Regions from separate parts of the Homo sapiens genome. Here regions 1 and 3 are each linked to region 2. The links are contacts of gene promoters, found by promoter capture Hi-C in blood cells and fetal thymus (Javierre and others, 2016). All regions are on one chromosome and are shown on one strand. Each heading gives the region's core, a stretch centred on a gene start or on the middle of the fragment in contact. The rest is flanking DNA. Distances are from core to core; before and after follow the strand shown.

Evidence for each region. Contacts are between HindIII fragments. The CHiCAGO score rates a contact against its expected background, and 5 or more counts as called.
Region 1: a fragment that was not itself captured here is called in contact with the fragment with the promoter of PPP1R17 in region 2 in 1 of 17 cell types (neutrophils); the score reaches 9.0 in neutrophils.
Region 3: a contact is called between a fragment that was not itself captured here and the fragment with the promoter of PPP1R17 in region 2, in 1 of 17 cell types (neutrophils). The highest score is 5.6, in neutrophils.

Annotation. Positions count from the first base shown.
Region 1 is chr7:32,115,353-32,118,839 of GRCh38, forward strand. It overlaps a transcript of PDE1C not described here. Among named protein-coding and RNA genes, the nearest start is that of PDE1C, 47 kb to the left of the region's middle. The HindIII fragment of the contact is 1,147 bases long and covers 1,472-2,618 here.
Region 2 is chr7:31,685,849-31,689,115 of GRCh38, forward strand. It overlaps PPP1R17 (protein phosphatase 1 regulatory subunit 17), which reads left to right and starts at 1,367. Exons shown (of 5, transcript NM_006658.5): 1 at 1,367-1,458. It also overlaps a transcript of PDE1C not described here. The HindIII fragment of the contact is 9,056 bases long and covers 1-3,267 here.
Region 3 is chr7:32,076,263-32,079,657 of GRCh38, forward strand. It overlaps a transcript of PDE1C not described here. Among named protein-coding and RNA genes, the nearest start is that of PDE1C, 7.6 kb to the left of the region's middle. The HindIII fragment of the contact is 4,044 bases long and covers 1-3,395 here.

The DNA of each region.
Region 1 (3,487 bases), core at 795-3,294, 430 kb after region 2:
CAAACTAATACTGGAACAGAAAACCAAACACCGCATGTTCTCACTCATAAGTGGGAGTTGAACAATAAGAGCATGTGGACACAGGGAGGGGAACAACACACATCAGGGCCTGTTGAGGGGAGGGGAGTGAGGGAGGGAGAGCATCAAGACAAATAGCTAATGCATGCGGGCCTTAAAACCTAGATGACTGATTAATAGGTTCAGCAAACCACCATGGCACATGTATACCTATATAACAAACCTGCACATTCTTCACATGTATCCCGGAACTTAAAGTACAATAAAAAAAGAAAATATAAGCCAAAATGCCAACAACTTTAGACAATCTGCCAAATAGTTGGTCGACAATAGTGTAACAGTTTAATCATTATGGGATACAATTATAAATGTAGGAGACTTCATTCCCCAATTCCTTTGCCCTTTTAGCTTCTCTTCTTTGTCCCCAGCTCTCTGAGGAAAGAAAGAATGAAAACTATACAGACAGATTCTGAAGAGAACTGTCATCAGAGGCAAGAATTCTACCCCCAGTGAGACTTTGCCCAGGGGAAAGATGTGACTTGTCAGCAATCCATCACACAAAGTTGTGCATGACTAAGAGACCAAGATGGCAGGGAAAAAATGGCATGGGTGAAAGAGGTCTACTCAAGTATGAGAAAAATCTCAGGAAATTGGGATACTACAAAGAGAAACAATGAGAGACTTTAAAAAGAATTTTCTTAGACCAAGCCCTTAAGATTCCTAAAACATTAGAAAGGCATAAGCACAATTAAGGTATTGTCCTTAAATATGACACTTCCGTGGGATGGAACTACAGGGTGCTTTGAAACTTCATGTGATGATTTTATAGCATCTTAGTCAATGCATTTCCCCTTTTATTTCTGCACCTACAACTGTAATGTCATGCTTATATGCTATTCAATTTGTAGAAGACTTGATGCACTTATCTTCCTTCTAGCACAGAGCTATACTTACTTCATTGCCAAAGGATGCTTCTAACTGTACTCAGAAAACCCCATAAGATAATACACCTGCTATTCTCGGGGGAATAGGAGAAGAGTGTCCTTATTGCCTCTGATCAAAGCTGACACATCATAATAACCAAGAAGCAGGCAGGGGTTTGTCAGATTTATTCCAAGTAAACACCTTAATGACCTCCCCAAATGGCAGGGGGCCTGCTCATAATAGGTGCATACATATGTAAAACAGCAAAAGAGAAGGTGCCAGAATTTTTCTGCCACCTGTATTTTCCTCTCCTGATTCACCACCTGGGGAGAGAGGAATGATGAGCTGTTGGAAACCACAGAAGGTGCAGTAACCTTGAAAATCTGGAAGCTGAGGAAGCAGTGAGCTAGAGAGTGAGAAGCCAGAATACAGGAGGTTGACCTGAAAGCCTTGTCAGTCCACATTCCCTATTAGATAATTTTTGTCCCCTTTTGCTATTGCTTAGAACTACAAATTTATGGAATTATAAAGCTTATGTCCCTTATAATCACATGGTCATTTCTTCCCAGAGCTTTAGTCACATCTCTGGACAAGTTCATCTACAGCACCCTATAGACCATTTCATGGCAATAAGCATCCAGAGTGTTAACACTCCTCATCTCACTATGACTTCCTGAACCATATGGGGAAAGCACTTTTATACACAAGTTATTGCTCAACTACACAAGTGAAAAATCTCTACCTCTTGGCTCCTCAGAGTAAATAGATGCAAAAGGCAGAAATCAAAACTTTCATTTGGTAGGCATCTAGAAGCCCATCAGTAGGAAAATATCCTTGAAATTTCTACCTATTTTGATATGGTCAACTTCTCTTTCTATCCAAACCTCTGTAGAGGTTTTGTTTTAAAGGTCAAAAGGAAAATATGAAGAATCTCAAGCAGTTTGTCTAGATAGGCTTTCAAAACTATTTGACAAAAAACTATGGCCACGCTCCACTAATAATAATAACAACTATAAGAAAACTATGTCATATGTAACCAGAACTGTATAGTTCATACGATGATTTCACATATGAGATTCCTTCTGGGCCTCAGGGCCTATGAATGCAGATGTGTTAGGCTCTTCTATAGGTAATAAAACTGAGCCCCCTAGCAGTTTATAGACCTGCTCAAAATTATTATCAGAGCCATAACTGGAACCTAAGCCTTCTGACTACAGTATAGAACCCTTTCTCCTCTTTATGTTTTCAAGTCTTTTACCCTCATTTTAACAGTTGGTCAGTTTACCACAAATGTGGACACACACATACACATATACACATGTGCATACCAGGATCTACATTAATGTCCCCTCTTTCATTCCTAATGCTTGTAATTTGTCCTTTCACTTATTTTCTTGATCACTCTGGCTAGAGGTGTGTTTCTTATGGCAGGTTGCAGTCAAGAGTGTTCAAAATCTACTGCTCACTTTTCTTTCCTGAATGACTAAAGAAATTCTGGAATAGAGTGAGTTATTGATAAATTAAATTGGTCTCGTACTTTTAATTTAAAGGTTGGGGGAAGGGGTGTTGTTGTGAACTCATCAGCCAAAAGAATTCAGGCTTCTTCCCATCCACTCTCAAGAGGGAGCCAGCTGGGATCTGCATCCTTGAGGGCTGGTTTCTGTTACCCTAAAGGAAGCTTTAACAGGACAATGTTTTAGGAGAGATTGAGCAAGAGGAGGACAAGCTGGACACTGATGCAACAAGAGGAAGACAGACTTGTCTTTTCCCTAAGGGTTGGATTCCCAGAGCCTGGGAAGTCATGCGAGTGCTTTGGGGAAAAAGGGCTAAGGAGAGAGTGGAGGGTTACATGGCATCGCCATGGTTAAATATGCAGTCAGTGGGGAAGGATCCTGTGAGCATCACCACAGACAAGTATAGAAGCAGAACCTGACAGCATAAAGGACCAGGTCCCAAAAGGAACATCTGTGAGCAGATAGAGAAATATTCACAATGTGATCACCGTGGACTTAAGGCCAGGCTCTTTCTTTACTGTTCAAGAATATATAAGTGCTAAGGTCCTTGCATGATTCAGTAGAGAGGAAAAAGCCCCAATAAAAATGAATATTAGAATTCTTCCCCTAACCGTAGCTAGTGAGGCTTAGAGCCGAGTTTGATTTTATTTTCAAAAATAAAAATAAAACGTGACCTTCCTTTACCTTATCTTATAGTCTTGTTCCTGCTGCTACAATAGAATTACCAAAGACTTCATAATTTATGGTGAACAGAAATTTATTTGGTTCACTGTTCTAGTGGTTGGGAAGCCACAGAGCATGGTGCTGGCATCTGGTGGAAAGGCAAACAAGCACACAAGACAGAGAGGGAATGGGGACTGAATTTCATCTTTTTATCAGGAGCCCACTCTGTGAAAACCAGCCTACTCCCAAGAGAACATTAATCCATTCATGAGGGCAGAGTCTTCATGACTTAATCACCTCTCAAAGGTCCTACTTCTTAATACCATCATGATGGCAATTAAATTTCAACCTGAGTTTCAGATGGGACT
Region 2 (3,267 bases), core at 117-2,616:
CCCAGGAGGTCCCAATAAGGATCAACACAAAATGGAACAGGCAAAGAAGTCCATTCTCTGCTTATCTGTTACCATGGCAAAAGTCTAACCCTAGGAGTCAACCTCTTGGTGAGTTTACTATGGTTCTAGCCCTGTTATTTGGGATCCTGGCAAGTGGGAGGGAGGCACCAACAAACACATTGCCAGTGGCAAGCAGGCAGTTGAAACCAAGGGGTTGCCAGGGACCTGCTCTGCAGGGAACCTCAGGTAAGACTGGAAAAAATATGGATGTGTGGATGGTGCTCACGTATCTTCTGTGAGAACATATTTCTTGGGCATCACTGGGTGGTCCATTGGCTGCTATCAGGGGGTCTGGAGCCCTTCTAGTGGGTCCTGATACCTACCTGATCTCCCAGACTGGCCTTCCTGCTTTGGAGTCAAAACTGCTGCTCCTCCAAACCCCAGTGGGCTCTCCTCCAGTGAGCAGACCCAAAACATAGAACCTTCCTCTCCAAAAGACAGCATGTCTCCCGCCTCTCCCACCTTGCTTAAACATCCACTCTTGAGTGCCTACGTATTCCTAATATTGGTACATTTGGCTTTGTTCCTTTGAAGGAGGAAATTTTTTCTGGCCTGCACACTATAACCTATAGAGTTGGGGGCTGCTTTCTTTGCTATGTGCTGTTTGAAATGCTCTCTTTGCTGAGAGGTATTGCAAAGTGGTTACAAGCGTGGACCCTAGCATTTCATTACCCCATTCAAACCCTAGCTTCACCATGTGGGGAGACCTTGGTCAGATGATTTGGTAACTCTTGAGCCCCAGCTTCCTCATCAATAAAATGGGATGATGACTGTAGCTCATCTCACAAGGTTGGCCTGAGGGTTAAGTAAGTAGATATGTGTGAAGTCTCTAGAAGAGTGTCTGGCATTTTGGTAGCCTTACATAAATGTTAGCAGTAGCTACCCTTCTCTTCCTCCTCATGATAGTACTTTGAGAAGCAGCAATAGTGATTGAAAGTACTCTGGATTTAAACTTAAATAGCTTTGAGAGTCGAAATTAGCTGTGGCCTCTCTTGGGCATATCACTTAACTTCTTGTGCCTCAGTTTCCATATTTACAAAATCAGGCCAAAAAAAATCTATCGCATGGGAATTCAATGATGTAGCTGGTTTGTCTGAATTTCTCTGGTGTGCACACCGGAAACTCAAAGCACGACTCTATACTGTACTTTTGTAATGTACAATGATTGCCGTGGAGAGCAGCGATGGAGATGTTAGTCCTCTTTCCTTCTCCATCCCCCTTGCCCTGGTGCCTGTGAAACAGAGCATCCCCATGGCAACAGCAGCAGCTGGTCCCTAGATAAGAGGAGCTGGAGCCGGCCAGCAGCAGCCACTGCCGCAGAGGAGCCAGGCCCAGCCTCGGTGAGCACACACGCCCTCCCTGTCTCTCGCCTTCGCTTCCCTGCATCTGCGCTGATTGGTAAGTGCTTCAGATTTTTACTCCAAGAACTTTTGTGGTGAGAAAAGCAAGTTTCCAGTCAGTTACTGGGACAAAGAAGGCTGTAGCTGGTGGCACGGGGTTGTGCTTTATGGAGCAAGGCTAAGCTGGGGCCGAGTGGACAGCAGAAAAAGTTACCACTTTCAAGTCATTCTTCCAAGGGAGGGAATGGAGTTCTGTAAAAGACTGAACCCTCACAAACTCATTTGCAAAGTTTCAAGATGAAGTTGGTGTATCTGCATATTCACACAGGATAGAGAGGTTTATCTTCCAAGGCTGGGGAAAGTACAGAAAGTATGCTTCTCAAAACACATTCTCCATGCCCTACTTTAAGTCAGTCTCTCCTCCAGGAATACTGCCAATTTAGGTTTTCTAAATGAACAAATCTGATTTTAAAAGACGGTACTTTTTGACCTGAATTCAATCCTCTGGTTAAAAAGAGGTTTGACAATGAATATGTATTTTACATAGCCAGAGGGTGCATTAACGAGATACCACATAGGCTGTGGATACAACCTTCTACCCTTTTATTCCATCCAGTAAATCAAGACCTGATTACTTTGGGGGATATTCTTCAGAATACCGTATGGTAAGCTAAGTGTCAACTCGCTTCTGAGAATCAGTTCTATTATGTTCCCAAGATTTAGAAATGGGTTGGTTTTTGTCTTGAACTATTCTCATCTCATTACCAGCTTCAGAGAAGGCCAGAGATGGGATAAAGAGATAATTCTGATAGATCAATTTAGATAGACATATAATCACAAATGGAGGACTGAAAGATCCAAGAAGGTCCCTCACACTCACGAAAATATCAGTGTGTAGGACCTGGGCTCGGGACTCCATGCACATTCTATGGGTAATACTCTCAACAACCCTGGAGAAGAGCCACTATCTTCCCCCATTTAACAGATTTGAAAACTAAATTTTTGAGAGAACAGATAACTGTCCCAAGTTCACCCAGCTAGAGAGTGGTACAAGCAGCCAAACGTTGGCTTCTACCTTATATTGACTCACAGCATCCAATCTTAAAGTTGAGAGGAATTTTCTTCCCATAATTTAAACCGCATATTCTCACATCCAACTGAGAAAACCGCTCAATGATAAGAGAAAAGACAAAAAATCCAGACCAGCTTCTGACCACACACTGAACCAACTAATGTGTTTCAGCTCCGCTGGTGTGCCTGCCTTTCTGCAATATAGTGGGGTCCCTTTTCTGGCACCCAGTTCCTTCCCCCTTTCAGTTCCTGTTCTCAAAAGAGAAGGTGACCTTTGTCATTAACAATCCCTGTGTATTGTGACATCAATTTACATATTGCTGCTCTTAGTGGTATTTGCATTTACAAGTATCTCTCTGTAAAAAGAAAGGTTTTGTCCCTTGTGAAAAGGAAGGTAAGGATTAGTAAGAGGAAGTTACAAGAGTTTAAAATCTGAAATCCTGAAATCCTTTCTCAAACCCTGAAATCATATCTCTTGGTCTCTTGCATACTACACTGAATACCTACATTCTGTCAAACAACCACAACCAGAAGAGTAATTCGATCAATACTCTTTCATTCTCTAATTAAGAAATCTGAAACATTTTGAAAACCAAAAGGTTTGTTGTTAAGTTCAACACAAACTCATTTGGTAGCAAAGCCTGACCTGAAAGAATGTGAATTTTTTGTGGTTTGTCTTTATGTCACTTAGTGTGAATATTCATAGTTTTGCTGCAGAAATAATGGATGTGACTGCTGGTGCTCCTTGAGACCCCTCTAGAGCTGTTATATAATTTAAACAGTCCTGATTTCCACA
Region 3 (3,395 bases), core at 554-3,053, 390 kb after region 2:
TTTCTTTGAGAAACAAGCCATATGGCTTGAAGTTATCTTAGCCATGGGGTTATCTTTTCACCATGTGGAGAGAATATACCAGAAAAATGACATCAGGGCTGGGTGCAGTGGCTCATGCCTGTAATCCCAGCACTCTGAGAGGCCGACGTGGCCGGATCACCTGAGGTCAGGAGTTCAAGACCAGCCTGGCCAAGATGGCAAAACCCCATCTCTACGAAAAAAATATAAAAATTAGCTGGGCATGGTGGCACACGCCTGTAATCCCAGCTGCTCAGAAGGCTAAGGCACAAGAATTGCTTGAACCTGGGAGGCGGAGGTTGCAGTGAGCTGAGATCACACCACTGCACTCCAGCCTGGGCGACAGAGTGAGACTCCATCTCAAAAAAAAAAAAAAAGAAAAAAAGAAAAAAGAAAAAAAAATGACATCAACACAGAAAAAGCTGAGAGAAGAACTAGAGAGACAAAGAAAAACAATGTGAAAGGGTCCATTGAGCCCCCTGATCCTGCTATGCCTGAAGCCAGAATGCCCATTGACTTTTAGGTTATATGAACAAAATAAATGTACCCCACCAATTTTTTTTAACTTAAACTAGTTTGAGTCAGAGTTATGTTACTGACAACTAAAAGAATGCCAACTAATAATACAATTATTCCTTATAGGAATGTTGTAAGGAGAAAAAAAAAAAAAACAGGGCCGGGCACAGTGGCTCACGCCTGTAATCCCAGTACTTTTGGAGGCCGAGGCAGGCAGATTGCCTGAGGTCAAGAGTTCAAGGCAAGCCTGGCTACCATGGTGGTGTAACCCAATCTCTACTAAAAACACAAAAAGTAGCCAGGCGTGGTGGCACATTCCTGTAGTCCCAGCTACTCAGGAAGCTGAGGCAGGAGAATCACTTGAACCTGGAAGGCAGAAGTTGCAGTGAGCCGAGATTATGCCACTGCACTCCAGCCTGGGCAGCAAAACAAGATTCTATCTTAAAAAACAAACAAACAAACAAAAAATCACGTATGGCCAGTGCCTTGTACATTGGAGGTTCTCATAAAATAGTAGTGCTTCTTCCATCTCATCCATCTGGCAGGACACAAAGGGACAGAAACTGGAACACTATAAAGGGATCTAGGGGTGGGCAGAGCACCCAAGGTAAATAGAAAAAGCCTGTATTATCTTGATAAATAGATATACCGATAATTTTCTTTCAGTTACATTTTGATAATGACCTATCAAATCATTGCTATATTACATACATTAATCCCTCAGAACAAACCTGAAGTGAATGAAAACACTTTATTTACTTTTTTAATTTATTTTATTTATTTATTTTTTTTGAGACAGAGTTTCGCTCTTGTTGCCCAGGCTGGAGTGCAGTGGTGTGATCTCGGCTCACTGCAACCTCTCCCTCCCAGGTTCAAGCAATTCTCTGCCTCAGCCTCCTGAGTAGCTGGGATTACAGGCACCCACCACCACACCCGGCTAATTTTTGTATTTTTAGTAGAGACGGGGTTTCACCATCTTGGCCAGGCTGGTCTTTAACTCCTGACTTCAGGATCCACCTGCCTCGGCCTCCCAAAATGCTGGGATTACAGGCATACTTTATTATTATTATTACCTCCAGTTTAGAAATGAGGTGGTGAAGGTCCAAGAAGTCTGCCAGCTTCCCTCCGGCTGGTCTGCTCTCCTCCAGCTAGTGGCAGGGCAGCAAGACAGTGCAGGCCTCCTGACTTCTGGCTCCGTGGACATTCTGCCTCTCAGAATACACTGCCAACCCAGTATAATTAACTTGGCTGTACTAATGAAATTGAAATTTTTGTTCACGTAAAACTGCTGATGCTACAAGTCAGCCAAATTCTGACCCAAAGGTACATAAATCAGCGGGTTGTTCTTCCTATCACTGTAAAGCAAATTTGAATATGGAAAAACCTCAGAGCTGAAAGGGATCTTTATCCAAGCTCCTAATTCTTCAGATAAGGAACGAGCAGCTCAATCACATGCAGTCACCACACAAGTTGGCAGCAGAGCTTGGACCAGAAGTGATGTCCCTGAACTCCCAGCCCAGTGCTCCACTGTCTCTAAACTTTCTGTGGGATCAAGAATGGCTCCCACTTCCAACGGAGGACTGGTTCAATGGTTTGCTCAGTTAAGAAAAGATGCCCACTAAAAAGCATAGGCTGTTGGTAAATGCTTCTTGAAGAAAGGAGGTCTCTTGGGGAATTGGTAGAAGTAGAGAAGAAAGGCTCCAGGAAAGTGGAAAGGTCCACAGCAGCCTAGATAATAACAGAGAACCTGATGTGATGGGTGTAAGAGGGTCAAGAAAGGGACACTGGGCAACGGCTATACATGCAGACTGAAGGGGCCTGGACTACCGTATTAAAGTTTAGGCTTGGCCAGGCATGGTAGCTCACACCTATAATCCCGGCACTTTGGGAGGCCGAGGCAGGAGGATCTCATGAGGCTAGGAGTTGGAGATCAGCCTGGGCAACATGGGAAGACCCTGTCTCTACAAAAAATTTTTAAAAATTAGCCAGGTGTGGTGGTGCACACCTGTGGCCCTGGCTACTAGGGAGGCTAAGCTGGGAGGATTGCTTGAGCCCAGGGGTCAAGGCTGCAATGAGCCATGATCACAGGATTACACTCCAGCCTTGGCAACAGAGCAAGACTCACTCTCTCAAAAAAAAAAAAAAGAAAATGCTAAGGCTTTATACTCTTGCCAATAGGGAAGCATTAAAATCTGTTGAGCAGGTGTGTAGGAGATGCAAAGTGGAAGTTTGATTTGCAAAGAAGGATTTAAAAACAGGATTTTCGAAGGTTGTTTTTGAAAGGCCACCAAAGGTGAAGATTTACAGATTCTTTTCTCTGTATCTGGAGGGAAATGATCTCACAAAACAAATAAATGCTGGAACCTTTTAAATTCATTCATTCGTTCAACAAACATTGGCTGAGTGCCTACTATGTGCTGCACACTCTGTGATACTAGGTATACAATGGTCAATTAAAATACTCCAGTTTTGCACCATGGATCTTTAATCTAATTGGGAAAACAGATACTAAACAGATTATAAAACAACAGATGCATCACTGTAAAGGTAAAGGGTGCTGAAAAGAAAAACAGGGTGCAGTGCAGAGAACAAAAGGAATATGATTTATTTATAAATAGGGTGGCATTTCAGCTATATTGCTGTGTAACAAACTATCCTCAAAATTCAGTGGCTTTTTAAAACAACCAATTTTTCTCTCTCATGATCCTGTGGGTTGGCCAGGTAGTTCTTCTGTTGGTCTTGTTTGGGGTCTGCCATGCAGCTGTAGCCAGATGGCAACCCGGGCTAGAATATCCAATATGGTTTCACTCACATGTCTGGTGCTTTGGCAGGGACAGCTGGAAGGCTGAGACCTCTCTCTT